3 separate regions of the Homo sapiens genome follow, and regions 1 and 2 are each linked to region 3. The links are contacts of gene promoters, found by promoter capture Hi-C in human tissues and cell types (Jung and others, 2019). All regions are on one chromosome and are shown on one strand. Each heading gives the region's core, a stretch centred on a gene start or on the middle of the fragment in contact. The rest is flanking DNA. Distances are from core to core; before and after follow the strand shown. Region 1 overlaps MBP (myelin basic protein). Region 2 overlaps MBP (myelin basic protein). Region 3 holds the start of ZNF236 (zinc finger protein 236).

Region 1 (3,767 bases), core at 149-2,648, 170 kb before region 3:
AGAAACTTAAAAAGTTTAAGTCATTTTTCTAGTTTAATCACAGGATGAGTGATTTAAAGGCCAGAAATGTTTATGTGACTCAAAAACCAAAGTTCAGCATGTAGAGAAATGGAGAAATGCTATCCAAACACCGAGGCGGTGTGGCTTGCCCTGGACTGTGAGCTGTTTCAGTGATTTCAGGCCACTGGAGTAGGAGCTAATAAGTAACTTCGTCTGGTAGACACAGCACTTAAAGATGTACGTCTTACAGTTTAAAGAGTTTCCCGTCTCTTCCATTTTGTTTTTTGATTCACGATTTCACACCCCCTCTCATGGAGGAGAAGAACGTACAAGGCTGGTTAGTGGTGACTAAATACAACTGGTCACTGAACGCAGAGAAGCATTCGATAAAATATTACATGACACAAGGAGAATCAGAGAATTACTTGAGTTCTTGCAGCATTCATAGACAGAATGAGTTGGAATATGAAGAATCAGGGATTTCTACTAGGACTCCGATGTTCCTGGCCCTTCTGACATCCTCACGTTCAAAGGCCCACGGCACCTGCCTGGGAGGAAACTGAGCGTGCAAACTCCACTCCTCTGTGTGTGAGAAGGTGGAGGTGTCAGTAAACAGAGGGGTACCCGCCATGAAGCGCCGGCCACAGGCAGAGCGCCAGTGGCCTTCTGTGAAGAGTATGGGAGCTGCGCTCTGTGCCTGAGGGAGGTTGACAGTCTCATCAGGAATGAGAATCGTTAACCAACGAGGGCACAAAATAGGAAAAACAACTAGGAAAATATGGAGTTGCTGATTACTAAGAAATCCAAGGGATAAAATGGGATCTTTTGTTTTTTTTTTTTTTTTTTGGAGACAAAGTCTCGCTCTGTCGCCCAGGCTGAAGTGCAGTGGTGCAATCTCAGCTCACTGCAACCTCCGCCTCAGAGGTTCAAGCAATTCTCCTGCCTCAGCCCCCTGAAGCTGGGACTATAGGCACACGACGCCAAGCCTGGCTAATTTTTTGTATTTTAGTAGAGAGGGGTTTCACCATATTGCCCAGGGTGGTCTCGAACTCCTGACCTCAGGCAATCTGCCCGCCTCGGCCTCCCAAAGTGCTAGGATTACAGGCACGAGCCACCACACCCAGCCAAAATGGGATCCCTCTTTCATTCCTCATGCATTCAAAACCTCTCAGGCAGGAATTTTGTCTGCTTCACTTTTGTGGTATTTTCAGAACGTGGACCATGCCTGGCCCCTGGCATTTAGTTGGGAAGTAATGAGGCCCAGTGCAGAGAAGGACAAGCAGCTCATGGTTACGCCCTGCTGTGCCTGCAACTCTGTCACAGGGGAGGCCACGAGCAAGGGGTGCAGAAAACAGAGCTCGCAGTGCTGAGTAGGCCCTATGCATGGGAGATGCCTTTGCCCTGGGCCCTGCGGAGGTTTCAGACAGATGGGAGAAGGAAGGGCCTTGTGGACAGAAAGGACCCTGCACAAGGCCCAGGGCAGAGGATGCACAGCCCATCCACATGGAAGATGGTCGGGGCCAGGGCATAGGGGCACAGCCCAGGGCAGGGGATGGATGCTCAGCAGCCAGGGCAAGTGGGAGGAGAGCTGGGGCTGGGGCTCTGGCTCCTGGCAGGGCTGCAGCCAGAGGGAAGGGCCCTCAGAAGCACCCAGAATAACAGGGCTCCTGCTGCAGGCAAGGGCGGCCACAGGACACTGGAAGGAGAGGGACATCCATGTTGCTTCTGTTTCCCGAAGCTTGCTCTGCTCTGGGTGCTGAATGCTGGGAAGGTGGACAGGAAGCCTCACCACGTTAGGGCCCAGGGGACAAAGAGCTTTGGCTTCACCCTGAAGGGTGGGCAGGGCAGGGAGCCTCACAGGCAGCAGGGGAGCTGTTAGTAGTCTGGGGGTGAGGGCAAGAAACGTTTAAAGAAGGGGTCCCCAGCCCCCAGGCCCTGGACCGGTACCGCTCTGTGGCCTGTTAGAAACCGAGGTGCACAGCAGGAGGTGAGCAGCGGGCGAGTGAGATTATCTCCTGAGCTCTGCCTCCTGTCAGGCCAGCGGCACCAGATTCCTATAGGAGAGCAAACCCTACTGGGAATGGCATGTTCGAGGGATCGAGGTTGTGCACTCCTTATGGGAATCTAATGCCTGATGATCTGAGGTGGAACAGTTTCATCCCAAAAACGTTCCCCTACCCACCCCCATCCATGGAAAAACTGTCTTCCACAAAACCCATCCCTGGTGCCAAAAAGGTTGGGAACCGCTGCTTTGAAGAGGATCGAGTAGGGAAGGAGGGCAGAGGAAAGAGTCCAGTGCCAGCAAAACTTCAGACCTGATGTGTGCCGTGTGGAGACCCCCGTCTGGGCTCAGACACAGAGGTGAACAATGTCGGTGCTGGGCGAAACGCAGCACACTCTGCAAACATTGTCCTTTGTGGCTGCAGCATGCAGTTGTCACCCACTGAATTCCACCATTCCGTGCACTACCATAAATCCCAGAAAAGCGCACTTTTCAGGGCGAGTTAGGCCTTTGGTGGCAAAACTGTCTTCTGAACAACAAGGGGTCCTCCCAATCAATGTGCATAGAGCTGACAGACTGGAGGGAAATACTTCAATTGACTTCCGTGCATTTAACTGATTTGCTTCCGCTGCGTTCTGTGTCGACGGGGCGCAGCCAGCATGCCTGGGGCCAGAGCTCCTCTGACCTCCAGAAATTCATTCCTGCCTGAGGTGTGGGCTCTTTACATGCAGGCTATTTCTGAACAAGTAGCATCTGGGAGCAGCAGTGAGAAAGCGAGGGGAAAACTGACAAAATCAATCTCGCAAGCTCCCCCGAGTCCCTTTCCTTTGCTTTTCTGAGAACTCACAATCAGCCCTCTTGCCTGGTGCGCATTCACCGCTGTTGGGCCTTTGCAGTTGAGCTGAGAGCCGAGCAGACAATGCATGAAGTCTGCAAAAGCCGCAGCATCCCCTGCGTCGCCTATGTCCCCTGTGTCACCTGCCCCCATGTCCCCTGTGTTCCCCTGCCCCCGGGCGCTCATGGCTTTTCCCTTCCCTCCACTGTGAGCTAACCTCTCGCAGTGCTTACCACTCTGTATCTTCTGTGCGATCTCTAGTGACCTGGAGTGTTCTGGTTCTGTTGATTACCAGCTGGCCCTGGGCACTCATGCCCAGCCATTCTTCCCTCTCCGCTTCCTCTTACTCGAGATGTGGAAGTGATATTCCCAAATCAGCCCGGTGTCAGTGTGGCGTGAGACACTTACTTTGAGAAGCAGAGACCAGCTCATGTTATGCAGCCGCGTCAAAGCCCATGAGCTGCCTGCCTCATGCTGTTGTGTGTTTTTCTGTGTGTATTTCCCGAGCATTTTCCTGTATTCAGCCCAGAAGCCTGGGGATAAGTAATATTTTTCTCTCAGTGCTTTGCCCAACCTGACCCTATCTCAGATGGAATCCCCCTTGAATTACCGTCACTTCCCCTCTATTTGCTTGTTCACCTTCAGGAGAGCCGCACACTGAGTCGGTGATAGAAATCTCTCCCCAGCAAGTCGCACACCCAAACCCGCTGCTGCCAGCCCGTAGCTGCCCCAGGTGTGTCTGGTGGCTCATCTGTGGCTTCCTAGTAGAAGCCCTTAAAAAATCCAGATCACTAGTTGTACACCTGTCAACCTACCATCCTACACGCACACACAAACAAGCACACACACACCCTAATTTGCATAGACAAAGTTTAAAAGGTGACAAAGACACTCTCCTTGACTGAACTTTAGACAGGCTCTTCTAAGCCC
Region 2 (4,182 bases), core at 1,683-4,182, 190 kb before region 3:
CTGCTCCCCAAACCAAGCCCTGTCTTCTCGCCACATAGCTGCCTGCTCTGCCCTTTCCACAGTCTGTTCACAGCCATCAAGGCTGTGATACCCCTGCTGTTGCTCACAGATGGTCAGTTCCCTGCACAGGCCCTCCTGCCTCCCAGGTTACTGCCTGGCCTGGGAGGTTCTCAGCCCGGCCATCCTCCTGGACCCAGAACCAGCATGGCCGCTCTCCTGCTGCTTCCGCCACCGGGAGCCGATTCCGCGCAGGCTTCCAGTGGGGGCTGCCTTCCCCTCTGCCAGAAGCACCCTCCCCAACTTCCCCAAGTCCTCGCAGGGCCCAGACTCTCATCTTGTCCTGTCATTTCCGCAAGGACCTTCCTGCTGACCCAAGCCCTCTCTGCTTTCCTGTTCTCTTGCCTGATGTGAAGTTGCACATTGCATGAGTTGGGGCTGCCAAGACAAATTACCATATGCTGGGGGCTTCAAACTACAGGAATTCTTCTGTGACCATTGTGAAGGCCAGAAAGCTCAAGTTGAGATGTCTGCAGAGCCCTGCTTCCCCCGAAGGCTCTACAGGAGAATTTGCTCCATGTCTCTTACTCCTGGTGGTGCCAGAAGTGCTTGGTGTTCTGAGGTTTGTAGATGCCCCCCTCCAGGCTCCTCCTCCATCTTCACACCTCTCCCCTGTGCATCTGTGGCTGTGTCCAAACTGCTCTCTTCTTACAAGGACACCAGTGATTGGAGTAGGGCCCACCCTACTGCAGAATGACCTCATCTTCACTTGATTCCACCTGCAAAGATCTATTTCCAAATAAGGTCACACTCACAGGTACAGAAGTTAGGACATGGACATATCATTTGGAGGGATACTATTCAATCCATAACATACATTTTCACCTGCTTTCCCCACTAGAATGTAGGTTTCACGAGGACAAGGACCTCGTGAATTACAATCACTGTAACTCAGATATTTAGAATGGTACATTACACCTATTTGGTACTCATAAATAATGGATGGATGGATGGATGGATGGATGGATGGATGGATGGATGGATGGATGAACAGGTAGGTAAATAGATGGATACATGAGTGGATGGATGGATGGATGGATGGATGGATGGATGGATGAATGGATAGATGGATGGATGAACAGGTAGGTAAATGGATGAATACATGAGTGGATGGATGGATGGATGGATGGATGGATGGATGGATGGATGGATGGATAGATGGATGAGTGGATGGATGGATGGGTGGATATATGGATGGATGGATGGATAGATGGATAAATGGGTAAATGGACTGATATGTGGATGGATGGATGGATGGATGGATGGATGGATGAGTGGATAGATGGAGGGGTGGATGGATGGATGAATGGATGTATGAGTGGATGGGGGATGGATGGAATGGATGGATAGATGGATAAATGGGTAAATGGACTGATATGTGGATGGATGGATGGATGGATGGATGGATGAGTGGATAGATGGAGGGGTGGGTGGATGGATGAATGGATGGATGAGTGGATGGGGGATGGATAGATGGATGGGTAGGTGGGTGTGTGTATGGATGGATGGATAGATGGATGGATGGGTAAATGGACTGATATGTGGATGGATGGATGACGAATGGATGAATTGATGGATGCATGCATGCATGAGTGGATAGATGGTGGGTGGGTGGATGGATGAGTGGATGGGGGATGGATGGATGGATGGGTAGGTGGGTATGTGTATGGATGGATGGATAGATGGATGGATGAGTAAATGGACTGATATGTGGATGGATGGATGCATGAGTGGATGGATGGATGAGTGGATAGATGGAGGGGTGGGTGGATGGGTGAACGGATGGATGAGTGGATGGGGGATGGATGGATGCATGGATGGATGGATGGGTAGGTGGGTGTGTGTATGGATGGATGGATAGATGGATGGATGGGTAAATGGACTGTTATGTGGATGGATGGATGAATGGATAGAGAGATAGATGGATGACTGGTATTACAGGAATATGTGAGTGAATCCTGTTTTCTGTAGATAAGTAATAGAGTTTGGAGAGGAAACTAACTAAATGATATTTATTTAAACCTAACACTCTAACTTGAAAGCAAAATGGATTCATTGCCCTTCGTGACAGAAATGTGGTATTTTTTGGAGAAAGCTATGAGATGCTGGTATACAACATGAAATATCTCAATCCCACTTCAGATTTCTAATTGTTTCTGCTTCCAGAGGAGAAGCCAAGTCAAAATGTCCTGAATAAGCAGTTCTCTATTGTGAGAGGCCTCTTGTGGAATCTGGGATTGAAACAATTCTAAATGCCCCACTTCTTTCATGCATGAATTGCAAAAAGATGTGGCAAGTTTTGTTTCTACCAAGAAAACTAAAAACACCTTTTGTCAAATAAATGCTCCTTGCATATTTAACTTATGCACCAGTGGCCTTTTAAACAGTCAATGTCCCATCAAGGTGCCTGCACATCTGGGCTCTCCGGGAGCAGCCATGGCAGCACCCGGGAAGAAACGCTGATGTGGCTGCTCTGCATGCTCAGATGACTTCATCGGGAAGCCTGGGTGCATTTTACGCTGGGTGCCAAATCTCGAGTAACTGAGGAATTCCCAGAGCCTTCTGAAACACAGAGCTGCAATAAGGCTGCTCCATCCAGGTTAGCTCCATCCTAGGCCAAGGGCTTTATGAGGACTGCACATATTCTGTGGGTTTTATAGGAGACAGCTAGGTCAAGACCCCTCAGAGAAAGCTGCTTTGTCCGGTGCTCAGCTTTGCACAGGCCCGTATTCATATCTCATTGTTGTTTGCAGGAGAGGCAGATGCGAACCAGAACAATGGGACCTCCTCTCAGGACACAGCGGTGACTGACTCCAAGCGCACAGCGGACCCGAAGAATGCCTGGCAGGATGCCCACCCAGCTGACCCAGGGAGCCGCCCCCACTTGATCCGCCTCTTTTCCCGAGATGCCCCGGGGAGGGAGGACAACACCTTCAAAGACAGGCCCTCTGAGTCCGACGAGCTCCAGACCATCCAAGAAGACAGTGCAGCCACCTCCGAGAGCCTGGATGTGATGGCGTCACAGAAGAGACCCTCCCAGAGGCACGGATCCAAGTACCTGGCCACAGCAAGTACCATGGACCATGCCAGGCATGGCTTCCTCCCAAGGCACAGAGACACGGGCATCCTTGACTCCATCGGGCGCTTCTTTGGCGGTGACAGGGGTGCGCCCAAGCGGGGCTCTGGCAAGGTGAGCTCTGAGGAGTAGAGGAGTTTTAGTTTAAATGGAAAAAGCAAAGGAGAAATCAGTAGGTGAACTCAGCCATTAGAGGAAGAACTGGCACGTAGCCTCTTGCTGTCTAAGGTCTCGTTCCGTGCTGGAGAATGCATATGAGCCCAAGAGTGTGGGCCTGAGTGGCTGCTTAGGACGTTTTCGTTTAACTCACCCCCTCTTTTCCTCACAAGGGATGGTGGCCGGGGTGTGGCTCAGGAATGTAAGGACATGCTGAATTCTGGATCTCTAAGGGTGCCTGGACATGGGCGTTGCAGAAAGAGAGCCACATTCTCAGGGTCTCTGGTGGTGTGTGCTTGCGGACTTGATGACTGATGTTGCCTCTGCAGCCCACACGCTGGGGTTCAACACTGGGTTATGCTCGTTTTTTCCTGGAGTCAGTGCTGCTAGCTTCATGTTGCTCTGCGACAATCATAGGATTGAGGTCGAGGAAGACTTTTGAACAAACTCCTCAATTTAAATCCGCCTTGAGCAAACGTTCTCTGTGGTCTGAGAAGTGGAAGGGGGGAGGGATAAATGAGTGTCTATGAATCAAAGCTTTATTATCTTGTGATTCCATTAATTTGCATACAGAGTCTTAGAAGTTTCTTTATTCAAAAGCAAATGTGGATAAAAATGTATTACAAAAAAAAAAAACTCTGCTATGGGGTCCAGAGTCTAGGAGTGGTTTCTGCAGTTGATTGTCAGTGGAGAACCTGTGGCTGCTGGTTCATCAAAGCGCTGGTCCCTGAGTGCCATTCAGATTGCAGATGCAGTATTTTACGTGATGTTTAGAGTGTTTGGTGGTTGTGTAATTTTGGAGAGAAAGAAGTTTTTCCCAAAAAAGTCCCTAGTTTATTGGGTGTTCTCACACAACCTGTAAGATGAAGCTGTTTTTCTGCCTGTGTGCAGGG
Region 3 (3,933 bases), core at 579-3,078:
TCTCTCCAGCAGCCCACAAAGGCCCATGAGGTGTGCGAAAGCTCGCTGAAACGCCTGTTGGTCACCAACGTTTCCGTAATGTGCACGTGTGTTAACTCTACCAAGTGCAATCACGACAAGAATTCCTGGTTTGGTGTGGCCTATGAATAAGTTTACATTGATTCCTACCCATTACCTCTTTCTTCCTAAACACAAAATTAACACAATCCTTTGTAGTTTCCAGGCCCGACCTTTCTCTGGGGCACCTGTGTTGTTTGGTCACAAGCTCTTTAATGAGCCTCAGTTTACTCATCCCCAAGAAAAGGGGAACACTTGAGTCACTAAGCTAAACAGTTAAATAAAAATCAACGGCAGTCAAGGTATAACCCACCGACTCCCATAGGGAGTCCTAGGCGCCCACTCCCCCTTAGAACCCCCTTCAAAACCCTTTCCAAACGCGGAGCGCCGCTCCAGTTGCACGGGTGACCAGGACCAGGGACCAGGCCTGCAGGGGGAGACTCGCGTCCAAGGCCGCACGGGAACCACGGCGCCCGCGAGAAAAAGCGCGGCGCCCCCTACCCCACTGCCCTCGACCTGGGAACCGCGGCACCGGCGAGTGCGCCCCGATCCCCCTGCGCAGGAAAGTCCGTTCCTCAAGCTCCGGGCTGGGGCTTTGGAAGGCAAGTCAATTCCTGACTGCTGGAAGGGCCAGGGTCTGGGGGTGCCCGGTTGTGTGTCTGCCTGCTCTTAAATTCTGGGCCTTTCTCCTTCCTTGGAAAACAAAATCTGAGTTATTTCATGACTTTAGCAAAGTACCATGGAGAATAAATTACTGGGGAAAACACTTCCTGACGCCTACTGTGTGCACGATCTAGCGCTCCCCACATAACACTGATGCCTACTGTATGCACGACCCACAGCGCTCTCCAGAAGCTCCAGGTTCAAGCTACCCGGATCACAATGGTGCCTACTGTTTGCACGACCCACAGCGCTCTCCAGATGCCCAGGGTTCCAGCCCCCCGGATCACAATGGCGCCTACTGTATGCACTACCCACAGCGTCTGCAGAGGCTCAGGGTTCAAGTTCCCGGATCACAATGGCGCCTACTGTATGCACGCCCCACAGCGCGCCCCAGATAACACTGGAGCACACTGTGTGCACGACCCTGCGCTTCCCGGACAACGCTGGCGCCTACTGTGTGCACGACCCCGCGCTCCACGGCCTCCCTGTGGGCCGAGCCCAACGTCCCCGGGGCAGCCGGCGCCGCGCAGGGTCGGGCGGGGGCGCCGTCCGGGAGGAGCCCGGGGCGCGGTATCCGCAGGCCCGGGCTCTGGCCAGGCCGCCTCCCCAGCGCGCCCCGCGGCCCTCCGGCCCCGGGACGGAACACGGGGCGGCCACTTTCCCTCAAGTTCAGCGCGGGCCGCGGCAGGGCCAGCGGGGGCAGGGCGCGCGCAGGAGGCGGCCGCCTGCTCCCTCACCCGCCTCCCGCCTCCCGCCTCAGCCGCCGCCCGGCCCAGGAAAGTAGGCCCAGCGCGCGGAGGGGCCGGGCGGCGACTCGCCCGTATCATTCCGCCCGCGCTGCGGCCCGCCCGGCCAGTCGGCGGCGGCGGCGGCCCGGGTCTGCGCGGCCCCCGCCCCCGCCCCGCCGCTCCCGGCGCCCCCCGCGCCGCATCCGGGGACTGGCAGGGCGCGGGCCCCGCACCGGCCGCCGGCGGGGCGCGAGGGCGCGGCCGCGGGCCTTACCGGAGTCGCCGCGCGCCTTGCTCTCCCTGGGCTTCGGGGGGCGGCCCCGCGGCATCGTCGGCGGCCCGGCTCGCACCCACACCCACTCACACTCACACTCACACTCACACGCGGCGGCGGGGGCGCGCACGCGCGGGCACCGGGGCGGGGGCGCGCCCAGCCGGCGCTAGAGGCGGGCGGAGCTGCCCGGCGGCGGGCGGCCCGGTCCGAGCGCCGCCGGGCTCACGGGGGAAAGGCGCCTGAACGCGCGCACCGGAGCGCTCGAACCGCGCCGGCCTTGGCAGGTTCCATGGCCCGCGGGCCGCGGTGGGGGCGTTGGGCGCGGGCGCGGGCGCGGTGGGGGCGGGGGCGGCGGCGGGGCGCATGCGCGGCGCCGCGGGGCCTTAGCGGACGGAGGGGAGCGCGGGGGTCACCGGGCCGGGCCGGCAGCCCTAGAGCTCGGCCTGGCGGGGACCCTGGGCCAGCCCCGCGCCTCCGTGGCCCGGGCGTCTCGTGCGTGTCCGCGAACTCGCGTGCGCGCGTCACCTCGGACCGCAGCATGGCTCGGAGGGCGGCCCTACTCGCGCCGCCCTAGTGCTGCGAAGGGCCTCGGAGCCCAAACCCGGAACCGCCATCTGGGACTGGGAAGACGACATGGCCAGAAGCCGGTAATGTTCCTTTCCCTGGGGGCAGTGCATTAAAATGGACCATTTCACGTGTGCTGGTCTTGTGTGTTGTTGCCTGCGCTAACTTACACGAAGTGGCAACAGGAACAGGCAGCGCAGCACCCGAGCGCCGGGTGGAGAGGCCGGCCGAGCCCGGGGAAAGCGACCTTACTCTGTCACCTGGGCTGGAGTGCAGTGGCGCAAATTAAAGTGTGCAGTTTGATACATCTTGACACATGTATACACTGTGAAACCATCATCACAATCAACAGTGAAGATGTTCCTCCCGTCTCTCTGTAACCCTTTCCTCTCTCCCTCCTTCCCTCCTCCCCCTCCCACCCATCTGCTTTTTGTCACTATAGTTTGAATTTCCTGGAGTTTTTAAATATCTTTTTATACAGACTGGGTCTCGCTTGCTCTGTCACCCAGGCGGGAGTGCAGTGACACGATCGGGACCCACTGTAGCCTCAAACTCCTGCCCTTAAGCAATCCAACTGCTTCAGCCTCCCGAGTAGCTGAGACTGCAGGTGAGGACCGCCATGTCTAGCTTTTTGTTTTTTTTTAAACATATGGGGTCTCTCTGTGTTGCCCAGCCTGCTCTGGAACTCCTAGCTTCAATTGACCCTCTGCCTCAGCCTCCCAAAGTGTTGGGATTGCAGATGTGAGCCACTGTGCCCAACCTGTTTTTCTTGGTGTTTTATATAAATGGAATTGTATCGCACGTAATCTTTAGGGAAGTGGGGGCTGTTCATTGAGCATAATTATGTTGGAATTCATCTATATATTGATAAATATTTTAAGTGCTTTTTATTGCTGAGCGGTGTCTAGGAGTCATTCTTGCTTACCCTTTCCCACTGCAGCCTTCACTCAATCTCATCAAAGATCTAGCTCCAATATATAAACCAAATCCAAGCCATTCCCACGTATATTACCCCTGAGCCATGCTCTCTCACCTAGATTACAGATACAGCCTAGTACCTGGTCATCCTCCAATCAGTTTTGTCTACAGCCATGCGAGTCTTCTCTCTATGCCTTAAATAAGACAAATGTATTCCAGCTCTTTTGAATATTTCCAATTGTGAAATGTTCCTCTTTATTTCTAATAATGCTTGCTATTGTCAACTTTGCCTCATATGTAAATAACACCACCAGCTTTCTTTCCTGTGTGTACCTTTAGAGTTAAGTGAGTTTAAGAAGTGTGTGTGTGGCCGGGCGCGGTGGCTCACGCCTGTAATGCCAGCACTTTGAGAGGCCGAGGCGGGCGGATTACGAGGTCAGGAGATTGAGACCATCCTGGCTAACACGGTGAAACCCCATCCCTACTAAAAATACAAAAAAAAAAAAAAAAAAAACTTGGCCGGGCGTGGTGGCGGGCGTCTGTATTCCCAGCTACTCGGGAGGCTGAGGCAGGAGAATGGCGTGAACCCGGGAGGCGGAGCTTGCAGTGAGCCGAGATCCCGCCACTGCACTCCAGCCTGGGCGACAGAGCGAGACTCCGTCTCAAAAAAAGAAGTGTGTGTGTATGATGTTTGTTTGTTTGTTTGTTTTTAAGACAGGGTCAGGCTCT

What was found. Contacts are between HindIII fragments. The study calls those that stand out against the background at their distance.
Region 1: a contact is called between a fragment that was not itself captured here and the fragment with the promoter of ZNF236 in region 3, in 2 of the 25 tissues and cell types used here (lymphoblastoid cells and mesendoderm cells).
Region 2: a fragment that was not itself captured here is called in contact with the fragment with the promoter of ZNF236 in region 3 in 5 of the 25 tissues and cell types used here (H1 embryonic stem cells, IMR-90 fibroblasts, hippocampus and 2 more).

Annotation. Positions count from the first base shown.
Region 1 is chr18:76,990,630-76,994,396 of GRCh38, reverse strand. The region is part of intron 4 of MBP (myelin basic protein); the gene reads left to right. Among named protein-coding and RNA genes, the nearest start is that of MBP-AS1, 12 kb to the right of the region's middle. RefSeq lists an enhancer at 1,040-1,612. The HindIII fragment of the contact is 9,676 bases long and covers 1-3,767 here.
Region 2 is chr18:77,015,897-77,020,078 of GRCh38, reverse strand. It overlaps MBP (myelin basic protein), which reads left to right. Exons shown (of 9, transcript NM_001025101.2): 4 at 2,811-3,247. Among named protein-coding and RNA genes, the nearest start is that of MBP-AS1, 38 kb to the right of the region's middle. The HindIII fragment of the contact is 4,409 bases long and covers 728-4,182 here.
Region 3 is chr18:76,820,452-76,824,384 of GRCh38, reverse strand. ZNF236 (zinc finger protein 236) reads right to left here and starts at 1,828. Exons shown (of 31, transcript NM_001306089.2): 1 at 1,723-1,828. The coding sequence starts at 1,777. ZNF236-DT (ZNF236 divergent transcript) reads left to right here and starts at 2,090. Exons shown (of 3, transcript NR_040024.1): 1 at 2,090-2,369. RefSeq lists silencers at 1,197-1,936, 2,057-2,246 and enhancers at 2,317-2,426, 2,467-2,546. The HindIII fragment of the contact is 16,105 bases long and covers 1-3,933 here.